Regions from separate parts of the Homo sapiens genome. Here all the other regions are linked to region 5. The links are contacts of gene promoters, found by promoter capture Hi-C in blood cells and fetal thymus (Javierre and others, 2016). All regions are on one chromosome and are shown on one strand. The core of a region is centred on a gene start or on the middle of the fragment in contact, and the rest is flanking DNA. Distances in the headings are between cores, read along the strand shown.

What was found. Contacts are between HindIII fragments. The CHiCAGO score rates a contact against its expected background, and 5 or more counts as called.
Region 1: a contact is called between a fragment that was not itself captured here and the fragment with the promoter of MAFK in region 5, in 2 of 17 cell types (total B cells and total CD4 T cells). The highest score is 5.5, in total B cells.
Region 2: a contact is called between a fragment that was not itself captured here and the fragment with the promoter of MAFK in region 5, in 1 of 17 cell types (monocytes). The highest score is 5.6, in monocytes.
Region 3: a fragment that was not itself captured here is called in contact with the fragment with the promoter of MAFK in region 5 in 1 of 17 cell types (fetal thymus); the score reaches 5.1 in fetal thymus.
Region 4: a contact is called between a fragment that was not itself captured here and the fragment with the promoter of MAFK in region 5, in 4 of 17 cell types (activated CD4 T cells, naive CD8 T cells, total CD4 T cells and 1 more). The highest score is 6.4, in activated CD4 T cells.
Region 6: a contact is called between a fragment that was not itself captured here and the fragment with the promoter of MAFK in region 5, in 1 of 17 cell types (M1 macrophages). The highest score is 5.1, in M1 macrophages.
Region 7: the fragment with the promoter of EIF3B here is called in contact with the fragment with the promoter of MAFK in region 5 in 11 of 17 cell types (total CD8 T cells, naive CD8 T cells, monocytes and 8 more); the score reaches 11.9 in total CD8 T cells.

The regions. Positions count from the first base shown.
Region 1 is chr7:2,419,335-2,423,302 of GRCh38, reverse strand. All of the region lies in intron 1 of CHST12 (carbohydrate sulfotransferase 12), which reads right to left. Among named protein-coding and RNA genes, the nearest start is that of CHST12, 18 kb to the right of the region's middle. The HindIII fragment of the contact is 7,524 bases long and covers 1-3,968 here.
Region 2 is chr7:2,312,808-2,317,062 of GRCh38, reverse strand. It overlaps SNX8 (sorting nexin 8), which reads left to right and starts at 2,622. Exons shown (of 11, transcript NM_013321.4): 1 at 2,622-2,735. The coding sequence starts at 2,642. RefSeq lists enhancers at 1,517-2,017, 2,018-2,518 and silencers at 2,337-2,606, 2,707-2,946. The HindIII fragment of the contact is 8,361 bases long and covers 1-4,255 here.
Region 3 is chr7:2,186,397-2,190,627 of GRCh38, reverse strand. All of the region lies in intron 10 of MAD1L1 (mitotic arrest deficient 1 like 1), which reads left to right. Among named protein-coding and RNA genes, the nearest start is that of MAD1L1, 44 kb to the left of the region's middle. The HindIII fragment of the contact is 616 bases long and covers 2,033-2,648 here.
Region 4 is chr7:2,369,553-2,373,454 of GRCh38, reverse strand. It overlaps EIF3B (eukaryotic translation initiation factor 3 subunit B), which reads right to left. Exons shown (of 19, transcript NM_001037283.2): 10 at 3,773-3,902; 11 at 1,606-1,678; 12 at 660-782. Among named protein-coding and RNA genes, the nearest start is that of EIF3B, 17 kb to the right of the region's middle. The HindIII fragment of the contact is 2,516 bases long and covers 393-2,908 here.
Region 5 is chr7:1,529,045-1,532,900 of GRCh38, reverse strand. MAFK (MAF bZIP transcription factor K) reads right to left here and starts at 2,199. Exons shown (of 3, transcript NM_002360.4): 1 at 2,003-2,199. It overlaps LOC100128653 (a long non-coding RNA gene), which reads left to right. Exons shown (of 1, transcript NR_149036.1): 1 at 1-448. RefSeq lists enhancers at 1-88, 14-163 and silencers at 1,480-1,609, 2,100-2,369. The HindIII fragment of the contact is 17,285 bases long and covers 1-3,856 here.
Region 6 is chr7:2,203,051-2,206,771 of GRCh38, reverse strand. The region is part of intron 10 of MAD1L1 (mitotic arrest deficient 1 like 1); the gene reads left to right. LOC105375126 (a long non-coding RNA gene) reads right to left here. Exons shown (of 3, transcript XR_001745062.3): 2 at 2,433-2,481; 3 at 1,572-1,648. Among named protein-coding and RNA genes, the nearest start is that of MAD1L1, 28 kb to the left of the region's middle. RefSeq lists an enhancer at 3,103-3,721. The HindIII fragment of the contact is 6,485 bases long and covers 1-3,721 here.
Region 7 is chr7:2,353,204-2,357,213 of GRCh38, reverse strand. It overlaps EIF3B (eukaryotic translation initiation factor 3 subunit B), which reads right to left and starts at 2,387. Exons shown (of 19, transcript NM_001037283.2): 1 at 1,794-2,387. The coding sequence starts at 2,292. It also overlaps a transcript of SNX8 not described here. RefSeq lists silencers at 1,931-2,040, 2,091-2,180, 2,361-2,500 and enhancers at 3,301-3,370, 3,041-3,596. The HindIII fragment of the contact is 9,918 bases long and covers 1-4,010 here.

The DNA.
Region 1 (3,968 bases), core at 1,303-3,802, 890 kb before region 5:
CCTATTTTTCTACTTTTTTTTATTTTTTTTGAGATGGAGTCTTGTTCTGTCACCCAGGCGGGACTACAGTGGTGTGACCTTGGCTCACCACAGCCTCCACCTCCCAGGTTCAAGGGATTCTCATGCCTCAGCCTCCCAAATAGCTGGGACCACAGGCACGCACCATGCCCGGCTAATTTTTGGATTTTTAGTAGAGAGGGGCTTTCTCCATGTTGGCCAGGCTGGTCTCTAACTCCTGGCCTCGAGTGATCCAAGTGCCTCAGCCTCCCAAAGTGCTGGAATGACAGGCGTGAGCCACTGCAGCCTATTTTTAAAACTAGATCCTAAGTACCTGTGCTGTTCAAGTTTTCAGGACCACCCCTCTCGAGGATGTGTAACAATCAACAGTTTCTTCAGATGACAGTGAATGAAACCACACTAAAAAAAAAAAAAAAAAGGTTTTCTGAAGGCTAAGAAAGCAGCAAAGCAGGGCTGCACGCAGTGGCTCTCTCCTGTAATCCCAGCACTTTGGGAAGCCGAGGCAGGTGGATCACAAAGTCAAGAGATCGAGACCAGTCTGGCCAACACGGTGAAACCCTGTCTCTACTAAAAATACAAAAATTAGCTGGGTGTGGTGGTGTGTGCCTGTAGTCCCAGCTACTGGGGAGGCTGAGGCAGGAGAATCGCTTGAACCCGGGAGTCGCAGTTTGCAGTGAGCTGAGATCGCACCACTGCACTCCAGCCTGGTGACGGAACAAGACTCCATCTAAAAAAAAAGAGGCAGGGCGCAGTGGCTCACGCCTGTAATCCCAGAACCTTGGGAGGCCGAGGCGGGTGGATCACCTGAGGTCAGGAGTTCGAGACCAGCCTGACCAATAACGGAGAAACCCTGTCTCTACTAAAAATACAAAATAAGCCGGGCATGGTGGCACATGCCTGTAATCCCAGCTACTCGGGAGGCTGAGGCAGGAGAATCGCTTGAACCTGGGAGGCGGAGGTTGCAGTGAGCCGAGATGGCGCCACTGCACTCCAGCCTGGGCCACAAGAGGGAAACTCCCTCTCAAAAAAAAAAAAGAAAGAAAAAGAAAGTAGCAAAGGGGAAAAGTTAACATGACAAACAACTTGAGAGGGAAGTTGCCAATTAAGATGAAGACTAACGAGGAGAGTGAAGCTGCAGGGGAGTCAGTCACATCGCCGACATAGGCAGACGCCAGAGGCCAGGGATGCTGCCGCCGTCCACGAATTCTGTACCTAAGAACTAGATAAGGGCGTTACTGAGCCAACCTAAGCACTTCTGCTTATTTTTCAGCCAAGAAGCATTACATATATACAACCAATGCCAGTGACTACATCATTTTATAAAACCTATGACTTTTCATGGATAATTTAATAAGATTTCAGTTTAATTACAAGGAAAATATTTTAGGATTATAACTAAGTATTAATAATATCTTTTAGGGCCAGCTATGGTGGCTCATGCCTGTAATCCCAGCACTTTGGGAGGCTGAGGCGGGAGAACTGCCCAGGAGTTTAAGACCAGCCTGGGCAACATAGCAAGACCCTATCTCTATAAAAAATGTTTAAAAAGGCTGGGCGCAGTAGCTCATGCCTGTAATCCTGGCACTTTGGGAGGCTGAGGTGGGCAGATCACTTGAGCTCAGGAGTTTGAGGACAGCCTGGCCAACATGGCAAAACCCTGTCTCTACTAAAAATAAAAAAATTAGCCTGGCATGGTGGTGTACACTTGTAATCCCAGTTTCTTGAGAGGCTGAGATGGAAGGACCATTTGAACCTGGCAGGTGGAAGTTGCAGTGAGCCAAGATCGCGTCACCGCACTCTAGCCTGGGCAACAGAGCGAGACTCCGTCTCAAAAAAAAAAAAAAAAGTAAAAAAAAAAACCAAACTAAAAAACTAGCCAGGCATGGTAGTGTGTGCCTGTAGTCTCAGCTACTTAGGAGGCTGAGGTGAGAGGATTGCTTGAGCCCAAGAGTTTGAGGCTGCAGTGAGCTATGATGTTGCCACTGCATCCCAGCCTGGGCAACATACCAAGACCCTTCTCTACAAAAAAAATGTAAAAAAAAAAAAAAAAAAAAAAAGAATTAGCAGGACATGGTGGTGTGCACTTACAGTCCCAGCTACTCAGGAGGCTGAGGCAAGAGGATCGCTTGAGCCCAGGAGATGGAGGTTGCAGTGAGCTGTGATGGCACCACTGCACTCCAGCCTGGGGAACAGAGTGAGACTCTGTCTCAAAAAAAAAAATTAACACAGAATTATCATATAAAATTACCATATGAGGGGCCAGGTGCAGTGACTCACGCCTGTAATCCCAGCTACTCAAGGAGGCTGAGGCAGAATTGCTTGAACCCAGGAGGCAGAGGTTGCAGTGAGCTGAGATTGTACCACTGTATTCCAGACTTGGTGACACAGTGAGACTCCGTCTTAAAAAATAATAATAAAATAAAATTGCCATATGATACAGCAATTCCACTTCTGTGTATACACCCAAAATAACTGAAAGCAAGGTTGTTGTTCTTTTCCTGAGACAGGGTCTCACTGTGTTGTCCAGGCTGGGGTGCAGTGGTGCCATCAAACCTCACTGCAGCCTTGAACTCCTGGGCTCAAGCAGCCTCCTGAGTAGCTGAGACTATAGGTGGTTGCCACCATGCCCAGCTAATTTTTTGTAGAGATGGCATCTTGCTATGTTGTCAGGGTGGTCTTGAATTCCTGGCCTCAAGTGATCCTTCCACCTTGGCCCCCCAAAGTGCTGGGATGACAGGCATGAGCCACTGCACTCAACTTAGAGCAGGGTCTTGAAGAGATGCTTGCACACCCATGTCCACACTGATGTCAGCATCATTCACAATAGCCAAAAGGTGGAAGGAACCCAAGTGTTCGCGACAGATGAACAGACAAGCAAACTGTGGTCAACCCATGTAGTAGAATATTACTCAGCCTTCAAAAGAAAGGAAATTCTGACACATGCTACAACATGGATGAACCCTGAAGACATTATGCTCAGTGAAATAAGCCAGAAACAAAAGGACAAATACTTGGCCGGTGTGGCGGCTCACACCTGTAATCCCAGCACTTTGGGAAGCCGAGGCGGGCAGATCACGAGGTCAGGAGATCAAGACCATCCTGGCTAACACGGTGAAACCCCGTCTCTACTAAAAATACAAAAAATTAGCCGGGCATGCTGACGGGCGCCTGTAGTCTCAGCTACTCTGGAGGCTGAGGCAGGAGAATGGCATGAACCCGGGAGGCAGAGCTTACAGTGAGGTGAGATCGTGCCACTGCACTCCAGCCTGGGCAACAGAGCGAGACTCCATCTCAAAAAAAAAAAAAAAAAAAAAAAGACAAATATTTCAAGATTCTACTTGTATGAGGTTCCCAGGGCAGTTAAATTCCTAGAGACAGAAAGTAGAATGGTGGTTGTGGGGGCAGGGGAGGGGGATGGGAGTTTGTGTTCAATGGGGACAGAGCTTTAGTTTTACAAGATGAACATAGTTCTGGGGCTGGAGGGTGGTGATTGCTGCAGAGTGATGTGAACGTGCTTAACACCACCAAACTGCATGCTTAAAAATGGTTACAATGGTAATTTTTTTTTTTTTTTTTTGAGACGGAGTTTTGCTCTTGTTGCCTAGGCTTGAGTGCAGTTGCACAATCTCAGCTCACTGCAACCTCTGCTTCCCGGGTTCAAGCGATTCTCCTGCCTCAGCCTCCTAAGTAGCTGGGATTACAGGCTCCCACCACCATGCCTGGCTAATTTTTGTATTTTTAGTAGAGACGGGGCTTCACCATGTTGGCCAGGCTGGTCTCGGACTCCTGACCTCAGGGAATCCACCTGCCTTGGCCTCTCAAAGTGCTGGGATTACAGGCGTAAGCCACTATGCCCAGCCATTTTTTTTTTTTTTTTTTTTTTGGAGACAGGGTTCCACTCTATCATTCAGACTTGAGTGCAGTGGCGTGATCTTGGCTCACTGCAACCT
Region 2 (4,255 bases), core at 531-3,030, 780 kb before region 5:
ATCCCTTCACCCATGTAGGGAAGGGATCGCCCTTCACCCTTCACCCTCTTCTGCGGTGTGTTGCACAGCCTTGCTCCCGTTTTGGAACAGTTAGCACACTTGCTCCACTCTGGCCATCTGTGCCTCCTCCAGATCAAGGAATGCACAGGAAACATCTTTGTATTCTCAGCACCCAGCACAGGGCTTCCTGACCTCCTGGTGGCAGCCAGCAAACCTGAGTGGGCCAGTGGGTGGGTGGATAGATGCAGGATGCAGTGAGTGAGTGAGTGAGTGGGTGGGTGGATGAATGCAGGATGCAGTGAGTGAGTGGGTGGGTGAATGAATGAATGCAGGATGCAGTGAGTGAGTGAGTGGTTGCATGAATGAATGCATGATGCAGTGACTCAGTGAGTGGGTGAATGAATGAATGCAGGATGCAGTGAGTGAGTGGTTGTGTGAATGAATGCAGGATGCAGTGCGTGAGTGAGTGGGTGAATGAATGAATGAATGCAGGATGCAGTGAGTGAGTGGTTGTGTGAATGAATGCAGGATGCAGTGCGTGAGTGAGTGAGTGGGTGAATGAATGAATGCAGGATGCAGTGAGTGAGTGAGTGGGTGAATGAATGCAGGATGCAGTGAGTAAGTGGGTGAATGAATGCAGGATGCAGTGAGTGAGTGGTTGCGTGAATGAATGCAGGATGCAGTGCATGAGTGAGTGAGTGAGTGAATGAATGAATGCAGGATGCAGTGAGTGGGTGGGTGAATGAATGCAGGATGCAGTGAGTGAGTGAGTGAGTGGTTGTGTGAATGAATTCAGGATGCAGAGTGAGTGAGTGGGTGAATGAATGAATGCAGGATGCAGTGAGTGAGTGGGTGGGTGAGTGAATGCAGGATGCAGTGAGTGAGTGGGTGAATGAATGCAGGGTGCAGTGAGTGAGTGGTTGCGTGAATGAAAGCAGGATGCAGTGAGTGAGTGAGTGGGTGAATGAATGCAGGATGAAGTGCATGAGTGAGTGGGTGGGTAGATGAATGAATGCAGGATGCAGTGAGTGGGTGAGTGAGTGGGTGAATGAATGCAGGATGCAGTGAGTGTGGGTGAATGAATGTATGAAGAAGCAGTGAGTGAGTGAGTGGATGAATGAATGCAGGATGCAGTGAGTGAGTGAGTGGGTGGATGAATGAATGCAGGATGCAGTTAGTGAGTGAGTGAATGAATGCAGGATGCAGTTAGTGAGTGAGTGAATGAATGCAGGATGCAGTAAGTGAGTGAGTGGGTGAATGAATGAATGCAGGATGCAGTGAGTGAATGAATGAATGTAGGATGCAGTAAGTGAGTGAGTGGGTGAATGAATGAATGCAGGATGCAGTGAGTGAGTGACTGAATGAATGCAGAATGCAGTGAGTGGGTTGGTGAATGAATGAATGCAGGATGCAGTGCGTGAGTGGGTGAATGAATGTACGAAGAAGCAGTAAGTGAGTGAGTGAGTGAATGGATGAATGAATGCAGGATGCAGTGCATGAGTGAGTGGGTGGATGAATGAATGCAGGATGCAGTGAGTGAGTGGGTGAATGAACGTATGAAGAAGCAGTAAGTGAGTGAGTGAGTGAATGGATGAATGAATGCAGGATGCAGTGCATGAGTGAGTGGGTGGATGAATGAATGCAGGATGCAGTGAGTGAGTGGGTGAGTGGGTGAATGAATGCAGGATGCAATAAGTGAGTGAATGAGTGAATGCAGGATGCAGAGAGTGAGTGGGTGAGTGGGTGAATGAATGAATGCAGGATGCAGTGAGTGAGTGGGTGAGTGGGTGAATGAATGCAGGATGCAGTGCGTGAGTGGGTGAATGAATGAATGCAGGATGCAGTGAGTGAGTGGGTGAATGAATGAATGCAGGATGCAGTGAGTGAGTGGCTGGATGAATGAATGCAGGATGCAGTGAGTGAGTGGCTGGATGAATGCAGGATGCGGTGAGTGTGTGAGTGGATGAATGAATGTAGGATGCAGTGAGTGAGTGGGTGAATGAATGAATGCAGGATGCAGTGAGTGAGTGGGTGAATGAATGAATGCAGGATGCAGTGAGTGAGTGGGTGAATGATTGCAGGATGCAGTGAGTGAGTGAGTGGCTGGATGAATGCAGGATGCGGTGAGTGAGTGTGTGAGTGGATGAATGAATGTAGGATGCAGTGAGTGAGTGGGTGAATGAATGAATGCAGGATGCAGTGCGTGGGTGAGCGAATGAGTGGGTGAGTGGATGAATGAGGAAGTGCGAGTCAGAAAACCCCAGTGTAACCGGTGAATGAGCGAACAAGGGCGTGACTGGGCGAGGAGAGATGGGAGTGAATGAGGGTGCGGTGGGTGCAGGCTTGCGCCTGAGGTAGTGCACCTGCGAGTCCGGAGGTCCAACCTGAGGGGAGGTAACCTGCGCCACCAGCAGGCTCCGTGTCCACGTGGACGGGGAGGGGCATGTGGGCGTGGCTAGGCGGGTTGTAGGCGTGGCGAGGCCGGGCGAGGAGCGCGGCGGGCCCGCAGGGGCGGACTGTGGGCGTGGCGCGCGGGGGAGGGGGCGTGACCAGGCGGGGTGTGGGCGGGGCGAGGGCGCGGCGCGGCAGGGCTGCGCGGCCGGGTGGCGCGGGAGGAAGTCACGTGGGAGCGCGGGCTCACATGACTGGCCGCGCGATGGACCCGCTGCCCGCGGCTGCAGTCGGGGCGGCAGCTGAGGCGGAGGCTGACGAGGAGGCGGATCCCCCGGCGTCAGGTAGGGCGTGGGGCGGCGGTAGCCCCCACCTGCCCAGGGCGCGCGGCCCGACCACCCCCGGCGGACGGGGCTCAGCCGCCGCGCTTGGTCCCCGACTCGTTTCCTGCCCCCGCGCCCCGCGTTCGGCCCCACGCCCCAGTCCCTCGGAGGTCCCCCTGCCCTCCTGCGCGCCTGTCCTTTGGGGGTCCCCGTGCTCTCTCGCGCCTCCGTCCCTCGGGGTCCCCTGCCCTCCTGCGCCGGGAGAGCCCTGTCCAGGTTACAGCTGGCCGCGTTCCGAGGCGCTTTCCCGGGGCTCTCAGAGGCGTCCTCGGGGACAGTTTCCTCCTCGCCCCGTTCCTGGTGCCCTGCTCTTCTGCCCTGCCTGGTCACGCTGAGCGATGGCACTGGGGGCCACTTCCCCGGACTTGGGCGCCTTTCCTAGCCACATCCTCTCTCCCAAGCTCCTGTCGGTTGTGTGGTCTTGGGCCAGTAATTTCACCTCTCGGGACCTCTGTTTTCTCATCTGTGAACCGAATCTATAGATGTGTAGCTGCTTTTCTCTCTCTTTCAAGTGATCCTCCGCCTTAGCCTCCCAAAGTGCTGGGACTACGGGCGCGTGCAGTTACGCCCGGTAATTTTTTTTATTTTTGTAGAGATGGGATCTTGCTATGTTGTCCAGGCTGGTCTGGAGCTTCTGGCCTCAAGCGGTCCTCCTGCCTTGGCCTCCCAAAGTGCTGGGAGTACGGGCATGAGCCATCGTGCCTGGCCTGTATTTCTGTCTTTTTCTTTTTTCTTTTTCTTTTCTTTTCTTTTTTTTTTTTTTTTGAGACAGATTCTCACTGTCACTCAGGCTGGAGTGCAATGGTGCGATCTCGGCTCATTGCAACCTCCGCCTCCCGGGTTCAAGCGATTCTCCTGCCTCAGCCTCCTGAGTAGCTGGGATTACAGGCATCCACCATGACACTCGGCTAAATTTTGTATTTTTAGTAGAGACGGAGTTTCACCATGTTGGCCAGGCTGGTCTCGAACTCCTGACCTCAGGTGATCCAACCACCTCAGCTTCCCAGAGTGCTGGGATTACAGGCGTGAGCCACCGCGCCTGGCCTCTTGTATTTCTCTTTAAGGGATTTGGGTTAATGAGGCTAAACATGGCTGGGCACGGTGGCTCACGCTTGTAATCTCAGCACTTTGGGAGGCCGAGGCGGGCGGATCACGAGGTCAGGAGATCAAGACCATCCTGGCTAACACGGTGAAACCCTGTCTCTACTAAAAATACAAAAAAAATTAGCCAGGCGCGGTGGCGGGCGCCTGTAGTCCCAGCTACTCGGGAGGCTGAGGCAGGAGAATGGCGTGAACCCGGGAGGCAGAGCTTGTAGTGAGCCGAGATAGCGCCACTGCACTCCAGCCTGGGCGACAGAGCGAGACTCCGCCTCAAAAAAAACAAAACAAAACAAAACAAACGAGGCTAAACATTAGAAGGAATACAGGAGGGTGCCCCTTATTTCTGGATGTTCCTTCCTGTGGTCCTAGCTGCCAGAGAA
Region 3 (4,231 bases), core at 1,091-3,590, 660 kb before region 5:
TTTAATTGGACTGTCATCTTCTGAGTTGGCAGAGTACTATATATATTCATGACAGAGTCTTTTGTCAGATGTATGGTGAATATTTTCTCCCGGTACGTGGCTTCCTTTTCATTTTCTTAGTGTCTTTTGAAGGGTAAAAACTTTTAATTTTGCTAAGTCTGATTTATCAATTCATTTTCTTTATGGTTTGTGTTTTTTGTATCTGCCTAACCCAAGCTTTTAGAAACTTTCTAGCTTTAACTTTACTGTTAATTTTGAGTTAATTTTTGTGTGTAGTGTGGTCACAGTTGAGGGTCGCTTTCCTGCCCCACAATACGTATGTCTGTTTCCCATTTGAATTTCCTTGGCACCTCTGATGAAAGCCTGTCAGCCATACATTCATGGGCCTTTGCTCGAGGTCTTCTTTCATTGAATCATGTGTCTGTCCTTTCTCCAGTATGGTAAGGTCGTAATTACTGTCACTTCCTAATACTCTTTGAAAGAACATAGTAAGCCCTCCAGCTTTTTCTTTGTAAGAATTGTCTTGGCTATTTTAGTTTTTTTATTTTCAGATAAATTTTAGATTTAGCTTTCAGTTTGTTTTCTTTCCCCCCATTTACTTTTTATTTCGTTTATTTTTTCTTGCCTTAGTGCACTCACTGGGACCTCCAGTGCAGTTTTACCTGGGCATGGTGAGAATGGCTGTCCTGGCCTTGTCAGCCTTAGAGGGAAAGCGTTTAGATTTTCCTGAAGCATGAGGTTAGTTTTAGGGTCTTGCGAGATACTGTTCATCAGGTTGAGGAGGATGCTTTTCTTTTCCCCGATTTGTTGTATTGGGTCAAATACATATACAATAAAATTGACTGTTAACTGTTTTTAAGTGTACAGTTCAGTAGCTTTAAGAACATTCATATTGCTGTGCAACCATCACCACCATCCACCTCCAAAACTTTATCTTCCCAAAGCCAAACTCTGTACCCATTAAACGCTCGCTCCCTGTGCTCCCCCGTTGGCTCTAGGACCCACCATTCTGCTTCCTGCCTCTGTGATTTTTTACTACAGTAGGGACCTCATAGAAGGAGAATCATGAAATATTTGTCCTTATGTGACTGGCTTATTTCACTTAACATAATGTCCTCAGGGATCATCCATGTTGTGGCATGTGCCAAAATGTCCTTTCTTTCTAAGGCTGAGTAATATTCTGTTGTATGGATAGACGATCCGTTCTTCTTATCCAGTCACCTGTTGATGGACACTTAGGTTGCTTCCACATTGTAGCTACTGTGAATAATGCTGCTCTGAACACGAGCGGGCAGATATCTCTTAGAGCCCCTGCTTTCAACCTGCTGGATCCTGTGGTTCAACTTTTAACTATTTTAGGAGCCACTACATTGCTTTCCACAGTGGCTGTACCATTTTACGTTCTCATCAGCAGTGCACAGGAGTTCCAGTTTCTCCACATCATCACCATGTGATGTGATTTTTTTTTTGGTGGTAGCCATCCTAATGAGTGTGAGGTGGTGTCTTGTTCTGGCTTTGATATGCATTTCCCTAATGATTAGTGGTGTGGAGCACCGTTCCATGTGCTCCTTGGCCAGTTGTGTGTCTTCTTTGGAAAAATGTCTATGCAGGTTCTTCGCCTGTTCTTGAATCGCGTTATTTTCATTGTTGTTTTAGGAGTTCCCTTGTATGTTTTGAATATTTTTCTCTTACAGATACGGTTTCCAAACATTTTCTCCCATTCTATAGGTTGTGTTTTCAGTCTGTTGATAGTGTCCTTTGACAAATTTAAAATTTAAAAATTTACCAAGATTTCATTTGTCTATTTTTTTTTTGCTGTTATCTGTGCCTTTGATGTCATATCCAAGAAATCTGTGCCAAATCCCATGTCATAAACCTTCTCCCCTGTTTTTTTCTAAGAGTTTTATAGTTTTAGGTCTTACATTTAGGTCTTTGATTTGTTTTGGGTTAATTTTTTGTGTATGGTTTAAGGGCCCAACTTCATTCTTTTGCATGTGGAGACCAGTTTTCCAGCACCATGTGTTGAAAAGCTTGTCCATTCCTCATTGAATGGTTTTGGCACCTTTGTCAAAAATTATTTGAGCATACGAAAGTGTTTATTTCTGGGATCTCTACTGTATTTCATGGGTCCATATGCCTGTCATTCTGTCAGCACCACACTGTTTTGATTACTGTGGCTTTGTAGTAAGTTTTGACTTAAAGTGTGACTCTTTCAACTTTGTTCTAACTTTTCAAGATTGCTTTGGCGAGGGACCTTTGGGTCCCTTGAGATTCCATATGAATTTTAGGATAGATTTTCCTATGTCTGCAAAATATTTAGTTAGGTCTTGATAGGGATTGCATTGAACGTCTAGATGGCTTTGGGCGGTGTTGACATCTTAACAGCAAGTGTTCCACACGTAGTGGTTTCTGGAAGGTTAGTTGTGGTACGGAATAATCTTTTCAAACTGTCGTACTAAAATTCATTGGTCTCTTGCACTTTGAATGGACCTTTATCCATGCATGGTTATGTAACATCATACATTGCTCATTTGAAAATATCGACGCACTGAATTATGTAGGTCTTTTATTATGCCTTATTAAAGAAATTACAAGCTAATCACCACAAGTTATTGAAAAGTCTTTAAACGTTAGGAATCCATCAAGCTTGTGGTGGTAGATACAAATTTTTAAGAATTTAGATATGTGTTTGGCAGCTTGAGTTTTATTATTGTCAACAAATACTCGTGGTTGTATTCTTTCAAATGATAACGTTTATTTAATTCGTTTTTGAGAAAATGTCTACCAGATGCTCAAGCCTGAGTAACTATTGTTGGTCAGTTAGTTTTTAAGTAAAATATTTTACATAAAAAGGGCTAGTTCAGTTCACAACTCAAACATGGAAGACCAACCATCGCACTTTAGTATGCACCAGAAATGTCTTACATGTGCTTTCTATTTCTTCACACAGAATGTTGAGATCTTATCAAGGGGTTAAGATTTAATGAAGTGAATATTTTAACTGGGCCCAGTACTCCTGTAGTTCCAGCTGCTCGGAAAGTTGAGGTGGGAGGATGGCTTGGGCCCAGGAGTTTGTGGCTGTTGGGAGCTGTGATTGTGCCTGTCAGTAGCCATTGCAGTCCAGCCTGGGCAGCATAGCGAGACCCCACGTGGTGCCCCTGGTTTGTTTTGCTAACGTGTTATACCCATCAGTGCTTTTGTATCTTCAGTTCAAATGTCAGCACAGTTAGAAGAAAAAAGGCAAATAATAGCTTATTATTATTATTCCTTGTTTTTTTGGAGACAGAGTCTTGCTGTGTCACCCAGGCTTGAGTACAGTGGCATGATCTTGGTTCACTGCAACCTCAACCTTCTGGATTCAAGTGATTCTCCCACCTCAGCCTCCCCAGTAGCTGGGACCACAGGTGTACGCCACCATGCCTGGCTAATTTTTGTATTTTTTGGTAGAGATGAGGTTTTGTCATGTTGGCCAGGCTGGTCTCGAACTCCTGACCTCAAGTGATCCACTTAGTATTATTATGAAAATAGTTTTGATGGCCAGGCACAGTGACTCACGCCTGTAGTCCCAGCACTTTGGGAGGCCAAGGTGGGCAGATCACCTGAGGTTGGGAGTTCAAGATCAGCCTGGCCAACATGGCGAAACCTCGTCTCTACTAAAAATAAAAAATTCGCCGGGCGTGGTGGCGCATGCCTGTAATCCCAGCTACTGGGGAGGCTGAGGCAGGAGAATCACTTGAACCTGGTAGGTGGAGCTTGCAGTGAGCTGAGATTGTGCCACTGCACTCCAGCGTGGGGGACAGAGCGAGAGTCCGTCTCAGAGAAAAAAAAAAAAAAAGAAAAAGAAAATAGTTTTGATGTTACAAGACTGCCTAGAATGGTGTCTGCAGACCACACTTAGTGAACTGTTGTCCTAGCGCTTAGTCCCTCAAGGCGAGAAGAGGCTCACAAGTTGGACTCACATGTGATCCTACAGCTCTGTGACATGCTTTTCAAAAATATTGTACAGGATAATGTAAATCCATCCTCACTACAAAGAAAGCTCAAACAGTACAGAATTAAAGTGAAACTTTCTTGGATTTCTCTGCTTTTTCAAATTCTGCTGTATCCCAGGTTAACATTAGCAGTTTGCTATAAGTCCTTACATAATTTTTATGTGCATGGACGTCTTACGTACATAACAAATGGCATCATACGGCCTGTATTGTTATATTATTTTCCCTTGGATTGAGTT
Region 4 (3,902 bases), core at 401-2,900, 840 kb before region 5:
TGTGTGAGGAACACAGCCCATCGCCACCTCCTGGCTACCACACACACACACCCCACGCCTATGAAGCAACAAGCAATGGCTCATTCAATCCCCGCGGGCACCGGGCTCTGTGCTGAGCAGAGACCCCAGGATGAAGTGAGGAGCTGAGGGCACAGGCAGCAGGTGCCGTGAGACAGGCGAGGGCCCACGCACCACTGTGAGGAGCGAGCCCCAGGTGGGTGCAGTGTGGCACCCCTGGAACCGGGTGCACGGGGGCAGAGTACAGCTGTGTGCAACAGCTCTGCGCACCCTGGTCAAAGGCACCTGACCCAGACTGGGGACTGGCAGGAGTATGTCCACAGGAAGTGACCCCAAGCCCAGGGACAGCAGCTACAGCCAGAAGAGAAAAAGCTTCACTTGAGATGATGGCAGAGAATGGAAGCCTTGGAAATACTCGCTTAAACGTGAGGGCTCAACGGGGCTCAGAGAGACACCCTGCAAGGAGGCGGCACCTCCAGGCCATCGCTCACTTCCATCAGCCGAGGCCACACCCCATTCATAGGCGAGTCCCGGCCTGCCCAGCAGTGGTCCTAGGCCAGTCAAATGCTCACTGTTGGGCAGCGACTGGGTCATCATCTGTGCTGACCTACTCAGAAGAGGAAAGGGACCAGGTTACTTACTGATGAGTTCAATCTTCCCGTTGTTTTTGACGTGGTAGAAAGACACAGATATCCGCGGAGCCTCTCCGTGCAGCACAGCAAACTTACTTCCATTTGGTTCCCAGGCAAAGGCTATGATGGTTTCTAAAATGCACAAAACAGACCCCTCCCTTTTTGGTCAATTCAGAACATAGTGCTCTTGATCAGTTAAAATGTTCACTATTCAACCACAGAGAAATATCCCCCGACGTGTAAAAGTTCATTAAAAGGACGGGAGAGCAAGCAACAGCAGGAAAGGTGCACATTCCTGGAGTTTCAGAGACAGCTGCTTCCACTTGTGTGGAGTGACCTACGTGAAACTGCTCCCTTCCTGAGAGCAGGACACCCACAGCAGGACCGCAGGAGCCCGACATTGTCAGCAGCTGTGGATGCCGCTTCCCTCGCACCCAGTGTGCACCTACAGTGGGATCCTGACCTCCGGTCTCCCTGCCTGGAAGGGCGGCCATGTTTCCCATTTTCTCACCTATTTTTAACCCTTCCTTCCTCCTTTTCTCCATGGCAAAACAAAAAGCCAAACAAGAACACAGGCTCAATCTCTTTTCTCTTTTTTTTAGACAGGGTCTTGCTCCGTCACCCAGGCTGGAGTGCAGGGGCGCAATCTCAGTTCACTGCAACCTCTGCTCCTGGGCTCAAGTGATCCTCCCGCTTCAGCGTCTCAAACAGCTGGGACTATCGGTGCGCACCACCACACCTGGCTAATTTTTTTTATTTGTTTTTTGTACAGAGAGGGTCTCACTATGTTGCCCAGGCTCTAAACACGTTCTGTGACCTGGAGATGACTATTCATGGTGAGGGCTCACAGTCCTGACTCAGCTGCTCAGACAACCCCTCGCATGGAAGTGTTAAAGCCAAGAGTAAAACAGCACGTAGGCCCCATTCGCCTCAAAGTGACTAAAATACAACTTGCCTTTCATCTCGACCACATCCACAGGTACCTGTTTCTCCCTCATTCGGAAAATTTCAAAATTTGTGACAACACCCTGTTTAAAAAAAAGGGGGAAGGGGTGACATTCTGGACAGTGAAAATATGAGAAAAGGTTTAAATCAAAGATCAACGTCACAATGAAAGATTCAGTGTGCATGCCTGGTTCACACACGAGCATGTGCAGTGATGAAAGCCACAGCCCTCAGGATGGAAGACGGTTCTAAGGCTGGAGAACTGCCGGCACCACGTCTACTGGAAGCCACTGGACATGCATGAAGTAACTCTGACCCAGATCCCACCTCCAGGAGCCGCCCTGCCCGCCACACTTGGGCACAAGCAGTCCCAGGGTCCACACTGCAGGCTGCAGGCCAGGGTCCTGAGGGCCCTAAAGGCACACCAATGGGGCTGGGTAAACCACTTCAGACAGTGGGGTGTCCTGTAGCCATAACCTTCAAGAAGTCCTGCCCTACTCGAGGAGTCTGAGGGAAAACTGCCCTGATGTCCATCAACAGAGGAAGGAGGCCAAGAAACGGGGTCCACCCAACAAGAGATTACTGCTGACACTCAGCACCGTGGACCAGCTGTGGGAACGCTGTGCTCCGTGAAGGAGGTCAAACACAGAAGGTGGCATAGTATCCGATTCCAGCTGTGTGTTCAGAATAGGGAAATCATAGACATTCGTGATGCCAGGAGCTGGGCGGAGAGGCTGCTAACAGGTATGTTGTTTCTTTGTAGGGTGACAAAAACATTTATTTATTTATTTATTTTTGAGACGGAGTCTCACTCTGTTGCCCAGGCTGGAGTGCAGTGGTGCAATCTCGGCTCACTGCAAGCTCCGCCTCCCGGGTTCACGCCATTCTCCTGCCTCAGCCTCCCGAGTAGCTGGGACTACAGGCACCCGCCACCACGCCTGGCTAATTTTTTGCATTTTTAGTAGAGACGGGGTTTCTACTAAACCCTCGATCTCCTGACCTTGTGATGCCCCGCCTCAGCCTCCCAAAGTGCTGGGATTACAGGCGTGAGCCACCGTGCCCGGCCTTTTTCCTATCTTTTAAAAATTATCTGTGGAGATGGGGTCTCACTGTGTTTCCCAGGCTGGTCTGAAACTCCTAGCCTCAAGCTATCCTCCCTCCCACCCCGGGGGAGCCACCGCACCCAGCCGATGAAAACGTTCTGAAATGAGTGGTGGTGGCTGCATAACTCTGAACACACGAAAAACCACTGAACCAGTTCACCACTCTAAAGGGGTGTTTTCAGGCATGTGAACTACATGTCAATTAAAGCTTTCTTAACATAAAAGAAAGAAGAATACTTCTATTAGAGGGAAAACTCAGGAATTTCTTTTTTTTTGTGAGACGCAGTCTGGCTCTGTCGCCAGGCTGGGGTGCAGTGGCGCAATCTCGCTCTGTTCACTGCAAGCTCTGCCTCCTGGGTTCAAGCGATTCTCCTGCCTCAGCCTCCCGAGTAGCTGGGACTACAGGAGCCTCCCACCACGCCCAGCTAATTATTGTACTTTTAGTAGAGATGGGGTTTCACACCACGTTGGCCAGAATGGTCTCAATCTCTTGACCTCATGATCCGCCCACCTCGGCCTCCCAAAGTGCTGGGATTACAGGCATGGGCCACTACACCCAGCCAACTCAGGCAATTTTTTGATAAAATAAATATTAAATGATCAACCACCAAAAATAAAAAAATAAAAAAATAAATCTTGAGTATACTACTCCTTGTGCTTAGAAAGAAAATAATATTCTCAGCCAGGCACGGTGGCTCACGCCTGTAATCCCAGCCCTTTGGGTGGCCAAGGCGGGCAGATCACCTAAGGTCAGGAGTTCAAGACCAGCCTGGCCAACATGGTGAAACCCTGTCTCTAATAAAAATACAAAAATTAGCCAAGCGTGGTGGTGGACGCCTATAGTCCCAGCTACTTGGGAAGCTGAGGCAGAAGAATCATTTGAAACCAGGAGGCAGAGACTGCAGTGAGCCGAAATCGCACTCCTGCACTACAGCCTGGTGACAGAGTGAGACTCCATCTCAAAAAAAAAAAAAAAAAAAAAAAAAAAAAATCCATTAACACCCTCCAAACAATACGGTGGCCACTTCAGAGCTCAGGATAAGGAATCGTCAGTTCCTGTGGGAATCTACATACCTGGGTGCCTTTCGGAGTCCTATCTACTTTCACACACAAGTAGTCTCCGTTCTTCTGCCAATGGAGCTTGCAGTCCACCACATTGAACAGGTTCCTCACTCGGATCTCTTGCCTGGTAGGGAGCTGCATC
Region 5 (3,856 bases), core at 950-3,449:
CCACACGGAGCCCTCTCTCAGCTGGCCAGATTTCCATTTCCCGTGTGGACTGGACCCGAAACCCAGAAAGTCCACTCCAGAAACCTTTAGACTCAGAAACAGCTGGGACAAGAACAGGCACAACTTCTTCTCCGTCTGGGTGGCAAACAGCTTTGCCAGAGACTGTAAACAAACGCAGCCATCGCTGAGCCCCGTGGGTGAAAGCACACGCCTTGTAGACAGCGAAGTGGCCCGGAAGACGGTCTCCCTTAACAGCAGCCTCCCGGGTGCACACAAAGGCTGGCGCCCCGACAACCCTGACCCTCGGTAAACGCTGGCTCCCGGGTTTACCAGCACCTGGGGAGTCGACGCTGCGGGCAACCAGCCCCTCAAAGCCCTGGCTCGGTTCAAGGATAAAAGGCAGGAGAAGCCTGGTTTTTCTGCTTTAATAAATGTCTTATTTTGGAATAATGAGAGGTCTAGTTTTAAAAGCAGACTCCCTCTCCCAAGGTCAAACTCAGACATTCCTACTGGGTTACCTAAGAAAGGGAGATGTTCTCATAAATGGCACTGGACGCCCAAATAGGGTGTAGGTGTGTCCCAGACACCTGCACAGCCCACCTATGTTCTCCAGACCCCGCCCACGGCTCTTTTAATGCTCCATGTCCCTGAAGACATTGGGTTTGGAGAAGCTGCATAGGGCACCCCACTCTGTGTTGGAGAACCCCTTACAACAACACACCGTGACGGTGAAACCTCAGTGCCAGTAAAGAGACCTGGCAGCCCACCCTGGAGAATCAGAGGGGTGGGAAGGGCGCTGCCAGAGCCGAACCACACAGATATCCCCTAGACCACGATGGGGGGCGGTGGGGGGCGTTTTGAGTCTCAGGATCTTCCCAAGGCCAGGCACCTGGCCAGAGATTGGCTGGCTGCCTGTGGGTCACCTGGTGAATGAATGGTGAGTGGATCTAATTTCTGCCTCAGCTACAAGAGCTACTTAAGAAGCAAGAAAACAGCATGCTCAGGGACGCAGGACACCAGGAGAGGGACACGGGAGGCCCCGCGAACACGGACACACACGGTGTGAGCGCGAGAATGCAGTGCAGGGCCACTGCTGTGTCCCAGGCGGACCCAGGTCAAGGGCCAAGGCCAGGCGGGGTCCTGGCTTTCTGGGTTTCTCGGTGGCGCCTGGTCCCACCCCCCAGGATCTAGAGGCTGTGCAGACGCAGACACACACAGTCACGGGCACATACACAGTTTCCTGAACTTGACAGAGGCACAGAAGAACTCACGCAGTGGGAGCGGGAAGAGGCCGGAGCCCCTGCCCCACACGTGAGCAAAGGGACGAGCCTTGGGGCCACTGTCACCTGCCCCCCTCCCGCCTCCCCACGGCCTTCCTTCCAGCAACCCTGGCAGGTGGGCGGCTGAGAGCGACACCAGTCCCAGGATCCCGCCTGTGGGGAGACCCGGTTACCCCCACCCCGTTCCCGGGCACGCGTGACCCCAGCCACTGGGCCAGAGCGCCGCCCGTCACCGGGAGGAAGCGCGGGGGGCAGTCCGGGGCCGCACGCGGAAGCCACGCTGGGGCGGAAGCCGCGGAGAATCCACGCGCCCGCGCCCTCCCCGCACCGCCCGCACGTGGCGCCCGCCCCGCCCCGCCCCCCGCAGGTGTGAAGGCGCGGGCCCGATGCGCGCCGCCGACCCGCGTGGATCCTCGTCCTCCCAGGTCTGGGGTCCGCGCCCTGGGGCCCCCGGCGCGGCAAGCATGGCCCGGGCGGCACGTGCAGGGGAGAGAGCCTCGCGTCCCGGGGAAGCCCCCGGGCCTGCGGGGCGGGGCCCACCTGGGCAGGTGCCCGGGCCGCGCCGCGGGCCGCATGAGGGTCTCGGGCCCCGCGCACCCAACCCCGCCACCCTCGGCCCGCGCCCCCAGGCGGCCGTGACTCAGCGGCCAGGTAGCCCCGGCCCCGCGCCCCGGTCCCCGTCCCCGCCGCGGCCCGGGCCCCGCTGCCCCACCGCCCCTCACCTGGCGTCGCGCGGAGGGCGCGGGCGCGCGGCGGCTCCTCGCGGGCACGCGCTGTCCTCGCGCCGGCGCTCACTGTCGCGCTCCCCTCGGCCGCCGCCGCCGCCTGGCGCTCGGGCTCCGACTTCGCGAAGAACAACAAGTGCCCCCGCGCCGCCCGCCGCCACCGCACCCGCCCGCCCGGCTCCCCAGCATCTGACACCGCTTCCGGGATCCGCGGCGCGCGCGTCACACCGCCCTGCCCCCCGGGCCACGCCCCCTCCCCGCCCCGCGGCCACGCCCCCCGGCCACGCCCTCCTCTCCCGCCCGGGGGGCCGCTGGCCCCGCGCGCACCTGCAATCCCCGCGCTTTGGGAGGCCCTGCGGGAAGATCTCTGGAGGCCGGGAGTTCAAGACCAGCCTGGGCAACATAGCGAAACCTCCCTTCCCCCATTCTCTGTCTCTATAAACATAAAAAACATTAAGGCCAGCTGGGAACGGTGGCTCATGCCTGTAATCCCAGCACTTTGGGAGGCCAAAGCAGGAGGATCGCTTGAGCCCAGGAGTTCCAGACCAGCCTGGACAACACAGTGAGACCCCCATCTCTACAAAAAAATTACAAAAATTAGTCGGGCGTGGTGGTATGTGCCTGCGGCCCCAGATATTCAGGAGGCTGAGGCAGGAGGATGGCTTGAACCTGGAAGGTGGAGGCTGCCATGATTTCATCACTGCACTCTAGCCTGGGTGACAAGGTGAGACCCTGTCTCAAAAAAACAAAACAAGCAAACCAGCAATGTAAAAATGGGGATAAGCGGCTAGTGATCACAGCCTCTGTGGGTGGGGCCAGCCCCCTTCTAAAGCCCCAGCTGGTGGTTGCCAGGGGACACAGCAGGCCCAGGATGGGGTTAGGGCACCACTGGCCCAAGGAGTCCTGTGAGGGATCCTCAGGTGGGGGCGGGCCCCTGAGGGAGCTGCCTCTGCTTCCTGTCACAGGTGGAGGACAGGCTGGAGAGGGGATCCGTCTGGAGCCCCTTGCCACGCTTCTGGGTCCCCAAGTCCCGCCCCCCTCTGAGCGCTGCAGGAAGAGGAGTTTCAGGCCTGGGCAACCGAGGGCCCCCCAGGACACCCATGGCATCTGCCCGGGGTTCTGGGAAGCCTGTTTTCTCAGCTCAGGTGGGACCCGGGAGCCTGTTTTCTCGGCTCAGGTGGGACTCAGGAGCCAGTGCAGGGAGGTCTGTGCATCTTCTGGGTGTCGTCCTTACCACCATGTGGCTGGGGATTTAGGCAGCAGCCCAGTGGCCTCTTGCTGTGGAGCGCGGGGGCAGCCTCCCGGGCCATCTCTCCCCCCCACTTGCGGGTTCTGCACTGGCCACCTGGGAGGCCCCTCCTTGCTAAGGCCCACACGGCCGTCTGGGGCAGCTAGCCACAGTGATGCCTGCAACCTGGCCGCAGAAACAGGTGCCAAGAAATAACTCAACAGCAGCAGTAGCGACAATGTCCCACGTCCCCAGGATGTTTGCAGAAAGACATCCCCCGGGGATGGGAAAGGTGCTTCCCTTGTCCTGGCCCACACTCTGCACTCGGGGTCCTGGGATGCGCTGGGAGCCTCCAGAGAAGCTGTGGCCATCTCCGCGGGACTCTTTACGTTACTCATGGTGTCGCTCCTCTAACCCAAATGCATTCTTTCCATAGCAGGCTTTTGTTACTAATCACACACTTTTATTATCTCTTTAATTTTTTAATTTGTATTTATTTATTTCTGAGATGGAGTCTCACTCTGTCGTCCAGGCTGGAGTGCAGTGGCACCATCTCGGCTCACTGCAGCCTCCGCCTCCCAGGTTCAAGTGATTCTCCTGCCTCAGCCCCCTCGAGTAGCTGG
Region 6 (3,721 bases), core at 649-3,148, 670 kb before region 5:
TAAAGTACCTATAAATTGTTATAGCCATAACAGTTTCAAAAAAGAACAAGTTATACAGCTTACACTGGCCAATTTCAAGACACGTTGTAAATTGCATAAATTGAGACACTGTGGTATTAAGTATAGACATGTAAATCAGGAGAACAGAGTAGAATGTTCAGAAATGATTGAAGAATACAGTGTTGATTGTTGTCAAAGTGTCCAGATAATTCAGTGGGAGAAAGAATCTTTTCACCGAGGGTGGTAAACCAGTAGGCTCTTCGTGGTGAGGATGAGCCTTAACACCTGTCTCATGCTGGACACAAGATTTAACTCAAATGACGCATAGACCTATGTGTAAAAGTCACAAAATCTGGAAGCTAGGGTTTGGCAAAGAGGTCTTACAATACAACGAACATGAACCATAAATGAAAAAATTGATAAATTAGACTTCATCAAAATTGAAAACTTCTGCTCTCAAAAGATACAGTGAAAAGGCAGACCATAGACTAGGAAAATATTTGCGAGATATTAACATGTATCTGACCAAAGATGTGCTCCAGGATAGAGAAGGAACTCTTACAAATTAGTAAGATTACCATAGTTTAAAAAATGGTCAAAAGACTTTTAACAGATACTTTATTATTTATTTATTTTTTTGGAGATGGAATCTTGCTCTGTCGCCCAGGCTGGAGTATAGTGGCATGATCTTGGCTCACTGCAACCTCCGCCTCCCAGGTTCAAGCAATCCTCCAGCCTCAGCCTCCTGAGTAGCTGGGGTTCCAGGCGTGCACCACCACACCCGGCTAATTTTTGTATTTTAATAGAGACAGGTTTCACCATGTTGGCCAGGCTAGTCTCAAACTCCTGACCTCAGGTGATCTGCCTGCCTTGGCCTCCCAAAGCACTGGGATTACAGGTGTGAGCCACTGTACCCGGCCTGCTTTTAACAGATACTTTACAAGAGAAGATATATAGGTGGTAAATAAGGACATGAAAAGATGGTCAACATTGTTAGTTATTAGGGGAATGCAAATTAAGACTGTAATCGCCCAACAGGGTTCTTCTTGCTGCCCAGAAAGCCAATGCACTGAGAACGGCAGGTGTGGCAGCAGAGAGGGAGTTTAATGATTGCAGAGCCAGCCGAGGGAGGTGGACGCGAGATAACTCTCACATCTGTCTCCCTGAGAATTAGGAGGCGAGGGCTTGAGGGTGTTTTGGCGGGCAGCGGCCTAGGGAGTGGTGAATGCTGGTTGGTTGTGTTGGGGATGCAATGATAGGGGTGTCAGGACTGTCTCCGTGCAGCTGAGTCAGTTCCTGGGAGATGGGGTCACAAGTCCAGGTGGCATCTCTTGATCTGCTGAAATGCTAAATCTGAAAAATATCCCAAAGACCAGTTTTTTAGGTTTCACAGCAGTGATGTCTGTAGGAGCCGTTAGGGAAGTTCCGAATCTGACAACGTCTGGTTACGTGACTCCGGGTAGCAGGCACTGTAGAAGAGCAAGCTAAGTAAGCAGTGACAGGTCATGGTTTACCCGTGCCTGTTCTTTAGCAAAGTTCAGGCCCCTGTAGCAATGCCAGTCTTAATCTCCAAACAAGGACGGGTGTCATTTTTCCTTGCCTTGAAGTTTAACTATAAACTACATTCCTCTCATAGTTATCTTGGCCTCTGTATTAGAATAAGCAAAAAAAAAAAAAAAAAAAAAAAGAAAAGATCCTGTGAGGTTAGAAGCAAGGTGGAGTCAGTAATGTAGATTTCTCTCGTTACTTAAAATTCTGTAAAGGCGGTTTCAAGACTGCAGTGAGATACCACTGGGCACCCAATAAAATGGCTAAAATTAAGCAGACTGACCATCCTGACTGCTGGCAGAGATGCAGAGCAGCCAGGCCTGTTGCCCCTGGGAGTAGCAAGTGGTACGGCCACTTTGGAAATGGTTTGGTAGCTTTGTACACACTTACGGTGTGACCCTGCAGTTCCATTCCTCGGTATTTAATCTAAGAGAAACCCAAGAGAAAATGTGGTCTCATGAAGACTTGTACAGGAATGTTTGTAGAGCCTTATTCTAACAGTCTGAGAGCAGGAACAACTCAGGTGCCTGTCAGCAGGTGAAGGGATACGTGGACCGTGGCGTCTCCACGCAGTGTAATGCGCGGCAGCGGCGGTGCTTGGAAACATGAAAGGGTCTCTCTTGCTGAGTGAAGGAAGCCAGACTTACTGAGTTTATACTTACTATACCATCCCATTGATTTGAACTTTTTAAAAAGGTAAAACTGAGCAACAGTGATAGAAAGCAGGTCAGTGATCCCTGGAGTCTCGTGCTGGGATATGATTGGGGTCTTATGGGGTGCTAGAAATACCCTTTGGCGTAATGGATGTGATCGCCGCACAGGTGTACACGCAGCAAAGCTCATGACACTGCTCTTGTCAAACTGTTCACGTGCGCAGATCATACCTCACTCAAGCTGGCCTGTCAACAGCAGACGGTCAGCTCTTCGGATTAGCTGTGAGGGGAAGGAAAATTCCTTAGTGGCGACTTGGACTGAATTGGAGAGTGGCCTGGGGGTGCTGTTTAAGCCAGCCTTCATTTGGGGAGGGACCCATCCCCTGAGTTTATGGAAGGCCTACGGCCACGGCTGCGTGCACCTCCTGGGTCTTTGTTACGTCACAGGAGTGCTGTGAGGAGTGGCAGCATGTGGGGTCAGTGCAGGCTGCAGAGGGTCAAGGAGTTTCACATTTGATGAAAAGCAGAACAAGCTGCATAAATGCAAATGAATGGAATGAAAAGTGGAACGTGTTCTTCCTTTCCTGCCCTCCCTGGTGACCTCACTCAGGGCTGGGTGCCCTGTGTCACAGCTTCCTAGCCATCGTCACCTTGTGTTCTCAGTATTCCTGGGGGGCTGTTCCAGAATAGAACTGATTGCCCCGGAGGTGGGCAGCAGGGCGTGCTGTGCTTGGCCCCGGTTCGTCTTTCTAGGCAATGCCTGATGAGTTTCCTGTGTGTCGTTCTGGAAATGTGTGTACATAGAAGCTCTTTATGTACTCCCATCACCTTTTAAAATTGGGGCTCCTTCCACAGTTTTATTCTGCAACTGTTTTCACTCAGTTTTTGACAGTTTTTTGGCCCCAGCGCAGGCTGGTCTGCTGAACTACTTTAAAGAACTGCAGGGTGTGCTGGAGTGCAGACGGACTCAGACTCCAGCAGCCCCTGTTGATGGACACTTAGGGTGTTTCCAGCTTCTTTCCCCAATTAGCCATGCTATGCTGGTTGGGTAAATTCTTAAAAGGATGATTTTTAGTTCAAAAGAGATGTGCGTTTGAGACTCCTAGCTGGTGCCACACCGCCCTCCCGAAAAGCATGAGTGCTGTGCGCTCCCGTCACGGCGTGTGACTGCCGTCACCTAATGGGGGTGGTGTGCTTTCAACGTTTCTAGAGAGATTCAGCTCGAAGTCACAGTACAGTGAGGAGAGCAGGCATCTTCAAAGGCTTGGCTTTTCAAAACTGTCATTTAGCAGCTCCCACTGAGGGGGACCCTATGAAATAGGAAGGGAGTGGGTGTCAAGTCCTGTAGCCGAGCCCCCACTTCAGGGAGGAAATCATTTGCTCGTGGCCAAGATGCCGCTGTTTTTGGCTCCTTGCCTGTCCCGTTGTGCCTGAATCTGGCCTTGCTTCCCATCCCGGCGGGTGGGCATTATACCCGTCAGCAAGGGCAGGCCTGAGGGGGTGAGGAGGGGCTGCAGAGG
Region 7 (4,010 bases), core at 1,138-3,637, 820 kb before region 5:
CTCTGACTCTTCCCAATTCCAGAAGTAATCTACGTATTAGAAATCTGTGAATTCGATGGGCTCAAATAATGCTTTTTAAAAAAGTAGCAGAATATCCAAGGGCTCAAAATAATCATTAAACCAAAAGTTTTGATTTTTAAACCATAATAACAATTGAAGCGTTAGAAAGAACACTGTTCTGAGCAGGAGAGTCTGGTGGGCCAAGCAGTATAGACCCACTGGGAATTCTCAGCAGCCTACTCCACCTTCAGGGACAAGTTTCCTCAGGACTGAGGGGCGTAGACTAGATGTTCCCAAAGTCTTTAGTTTGTGGTGTCCTTCCTGCTTTTCATGCTAAAATGTCTTTTATGAAAAAAAAAAGTGTAATATAGTAATGGTCACAGTAACTGACAGCGTTTTTATTTTTTAATTTTTCACTTTTTGAGACAGGGTCTCACTCTGTCGCCCAGGCAGTGGTGGGATCTAGGCTCACTGCAACCTCCACCTCCTGGGTTAAAGTGATTCTCGTGCCTCAGCCTCCCAAGTACCTGAGACTACAGGTGTGCACCAGCACACCTGGCTGACTTGTATTTCTGATAACCTTTTTTTCTTTTTCTTTTTTTTTTTTTTTTGAGACGGAGTCTTGCTCTGTCGCCCAGGATGGAGTGCAGTGGCAGGATCTCGGCTCACTGCAAGCTCCGCCTCCCAGGTTCACACCATTCTCCTGCCTCAGCCTCCAGAGTAGCTGGGAAATCCAGGTGCCCGCCACCACGCCCGGCTAATTTTTTTTTATTTTTAGTAGAGACGGGGTTTCACCGTGTTAGCCAGGATGGTGACCTCGTGATCCACCCGTCTCGGCCTCCCAAAGTGCTGGGATTACAGGCGTGAGCCACCCAGCCCGGCCCTCTGATAGCCTTTTAAAAATACGTTTAAATCATAAATTGGCAACTCCATGTTATTCCCGAAATTGTCCTGGTGTATCGCTGGCTACATCAGCAAGGGTATTTTTATTTTTCTCACTCTAGTATCAACTTAGCCAATCTGCAGAGGCTGATGTGTTCCCAACTTAAAGGCTTAAGAGAGCTAAAAAACAAAAGAAAAACAAATGAGACCAGCTCTCATCAGAAGTAGCTTCAGGAAAAAATCTCTGAGACAGGAAGCAAAAATATGCCTGTAAATCCAATCAAGGTTGAGATGAAGGCAAAGCTGGCTGTTATCGGCAATATTAAAACCTGGAAAAATAACTCTCTTTATAGATTTAGCGCAAGAGATAAAGAAAAATCAAACTGGAATTTCACAGGGTGCCTGTCCCACTAAGGAAGTCTCTGGAGATGGACAATTCTGAGGGGCAGGAGGACAAAATCACCGGCTCTGCCACAAGCTGTTCCTCCGATCCAGACCTTGGGAGGTCTGACTGGTCAGCTCTGGGGACACGTAGACCCGCAAACCTGCCACCGGGTCTTCGGTTTTTGCCGTACCCCCAGCTGCTACACTCACAGCACACCCAGCCATAACGGAGTACCCCATGTGCCCTCTCCCACCCTCTCAGATTTCTGGTTGTCATGCAAATGCCTGGCTCCCGAAGTGAGCTCCACCCTGTCCCCTTTTTCAGGAAAGAAAAGGGGAGGCGCTGGGCTCTCAGAACACTTCCAGGGCACTCGGGAACCCCTCCCTCGGTGGCTTCTCAGGAACACACGGACACCCTCGCTGGAACTTCTGCACGAACCGGTGGCACAGCCCGACGATATCTCCCACCTCGGGAACCCCAGCCACGCTCCCGCGCCGCTCGCCAGCCCCGCCCCGGGCGCCCTCACCTTCCTCGCTCACGTCGTCCACGAAGTCCTCGGGGTCGCTGAAGGAGGGCTCGTCCGCGTCGCCGTTCTCCAGCGCCCGGGGTTCGGCCTCGGCCGCTCTGCCCTCGTTTCCTCCCGCGTCCTCGGACACCGCCTGGGCCCGGCTGTCGGAGCGCTCGTCCCGAGCCTGCTCTCCTGGGGCCTCGCCCTGTGCCGGGACAGGGGGCTCAGCATGCGACCCGGGCAGCTCCTCGGCGGCCGGCGGCGAGGGCGACTCGGACGGGCCGGAGGCCGCCTCTGCCTCGGCCGCCGGCTCGGTCCTCACCTCGGACTCCGGCCCGGCCTCCGCGATCCCCACCTCCTCACTGGAGGCCTCGGTCCCCGCGGCCTCCGGAGCGCCGGGCCCCGCGGGCCGCAGCAGCCCCTCGGCTGGCGGCGGCTCGGCGGCCGGCTGCTGCTGGCCGGGCTCGGCGCGCTCCTCGGCCGCCTCGGGCACCGCCACGTTCTCCGCGTCCTGCATGGGCCCAACGCTGCCTACTCGCAGGGCTCCGCGGCCGCCGCGCTTCCGACTCTCCCAGGCCGCACCGCGCGCCGCGACGGCTACAGCCCAGCCATGTGCGTGCGACGGGGAGGCCGCACCAAGGCCGCGGGGCGGGGGGCGCACCCACGCCCTGGGGCCTCACGAACGACCCTGAGAGGACTCGCATCCACAAGACCGCGCCCGAAAATCATCAAACTGATATATTTGTGACAAGAAAGTGCTTAATTCCATTCAGCAAGGTTGTTTCTGTGCATCAGTAAACTCATGGGAGCATTGACCACCCCATGTGTGGCAGCAGATGGTTCCGTCCAACATGGCGTCCTCCCCCTTTCCTTTCCCGTCGGACGCTGCGGGGCGGGACTGAACTATTTGTGGAGCTGAAGGCGGGGACAAGAAATGATTTTAGTACCCGGAATGCTAGGAAAATGTCCTCTAACTCAACAGTTAATACCCTGGAAGAGTGGAGACTCAACAGGCGATTGCTCAGGGCGTCTGAGCCTTTCGCTAGGGAAACCGTTTAGTTTACGTTACTAAAGTCCCCCCTGTCCGTGTCTGTCACTTGGACTCGCCTACTGACTGAGCAAAAGGACAGACTACTTCAAAATAGAAAAGGAATTCGGGGCGAGCCAGAGAGGGCCCACACGACTAGAAGGACGACTGCCTGGCGCGATACAAAAATGTATGGAAGTTTCTTTAATCGCTTACCCCCAGTCCTTCCCTAGCGGCCGTCACTGCCTGTTTCCCCCCATTCGGGCTTTCACAGTGGTTCAGTCCATCCGAGGCCGCCGCCTTCAGCGCGGGACAGCGCGGGTCACGTGGGGGCGGGGGCGGGTCCTCGCCGCGTGGAGCTCGAGGCTGACTCCGGAGGGACCGGAGCGGTTCGCTCTGCGCGGGTGCTCACGGGACGGGCATTGGGTGCATGTGGCTTCTATCTTGTTTTTTGCCGGAGTGGAGGACAACCACTGGTTGGGGGATGTCTTAATCATCCTAGAAAACAACCCAGTGGATCACGCCTGTTATCCCAGCACTTTGGGAGGCTGAGGTGGGAAGATCGCTTGAGCTTAGGAGTTGGAGACCAGCCTTGCCAACATAGCACCACCACCCCCCGCACGCCAGCCCTCATCTCTACGAAAATTAAATAAATAAATAAAACAGGTGGTACCCAGAGGCTGGGGTGGAGAGTGGGGAGTGTTTATCGGGGACGGACCTTCAATTTGGGAGGATGAGAACGTTTTGGAGATGACGGTGGTGATGGTACAACATGGTGAATGTACTTGATGCCACTGAACTGTATACTAAACTTCATATTAAAATGGCTAGGCCCTGCGCGGTGGCTCACACCTCTCTTCCCAGTACTTTGGGAGGCCAAGACAGGAGGATCACTTGAGCCCAAGAGTTCAAGACCAGTCAGGGCAACATAGCGAGACCCTGTCTTCGAAAAAATAAAATAAAATGCCAAAAAGGTAAATTTTATGTATATTTCATCCTATAGTTTTTTTGTTTTGTTTGTTTTCAGAGATAGGGTCTCGCTCTGTTGCCCAGGCTAGAGTGCGGTGGCATAATCACAGCGCCGCTGCAATCGGGACCTTCCAGCCTCAAGAGAATCCTCCCACCTCAGCCTCCCAAAGTGCCAGGATTACAAGCGTGAACCACCGCGCAGGGCCTAGCCATTTTAATATGCAATTTAGTGTACAGTT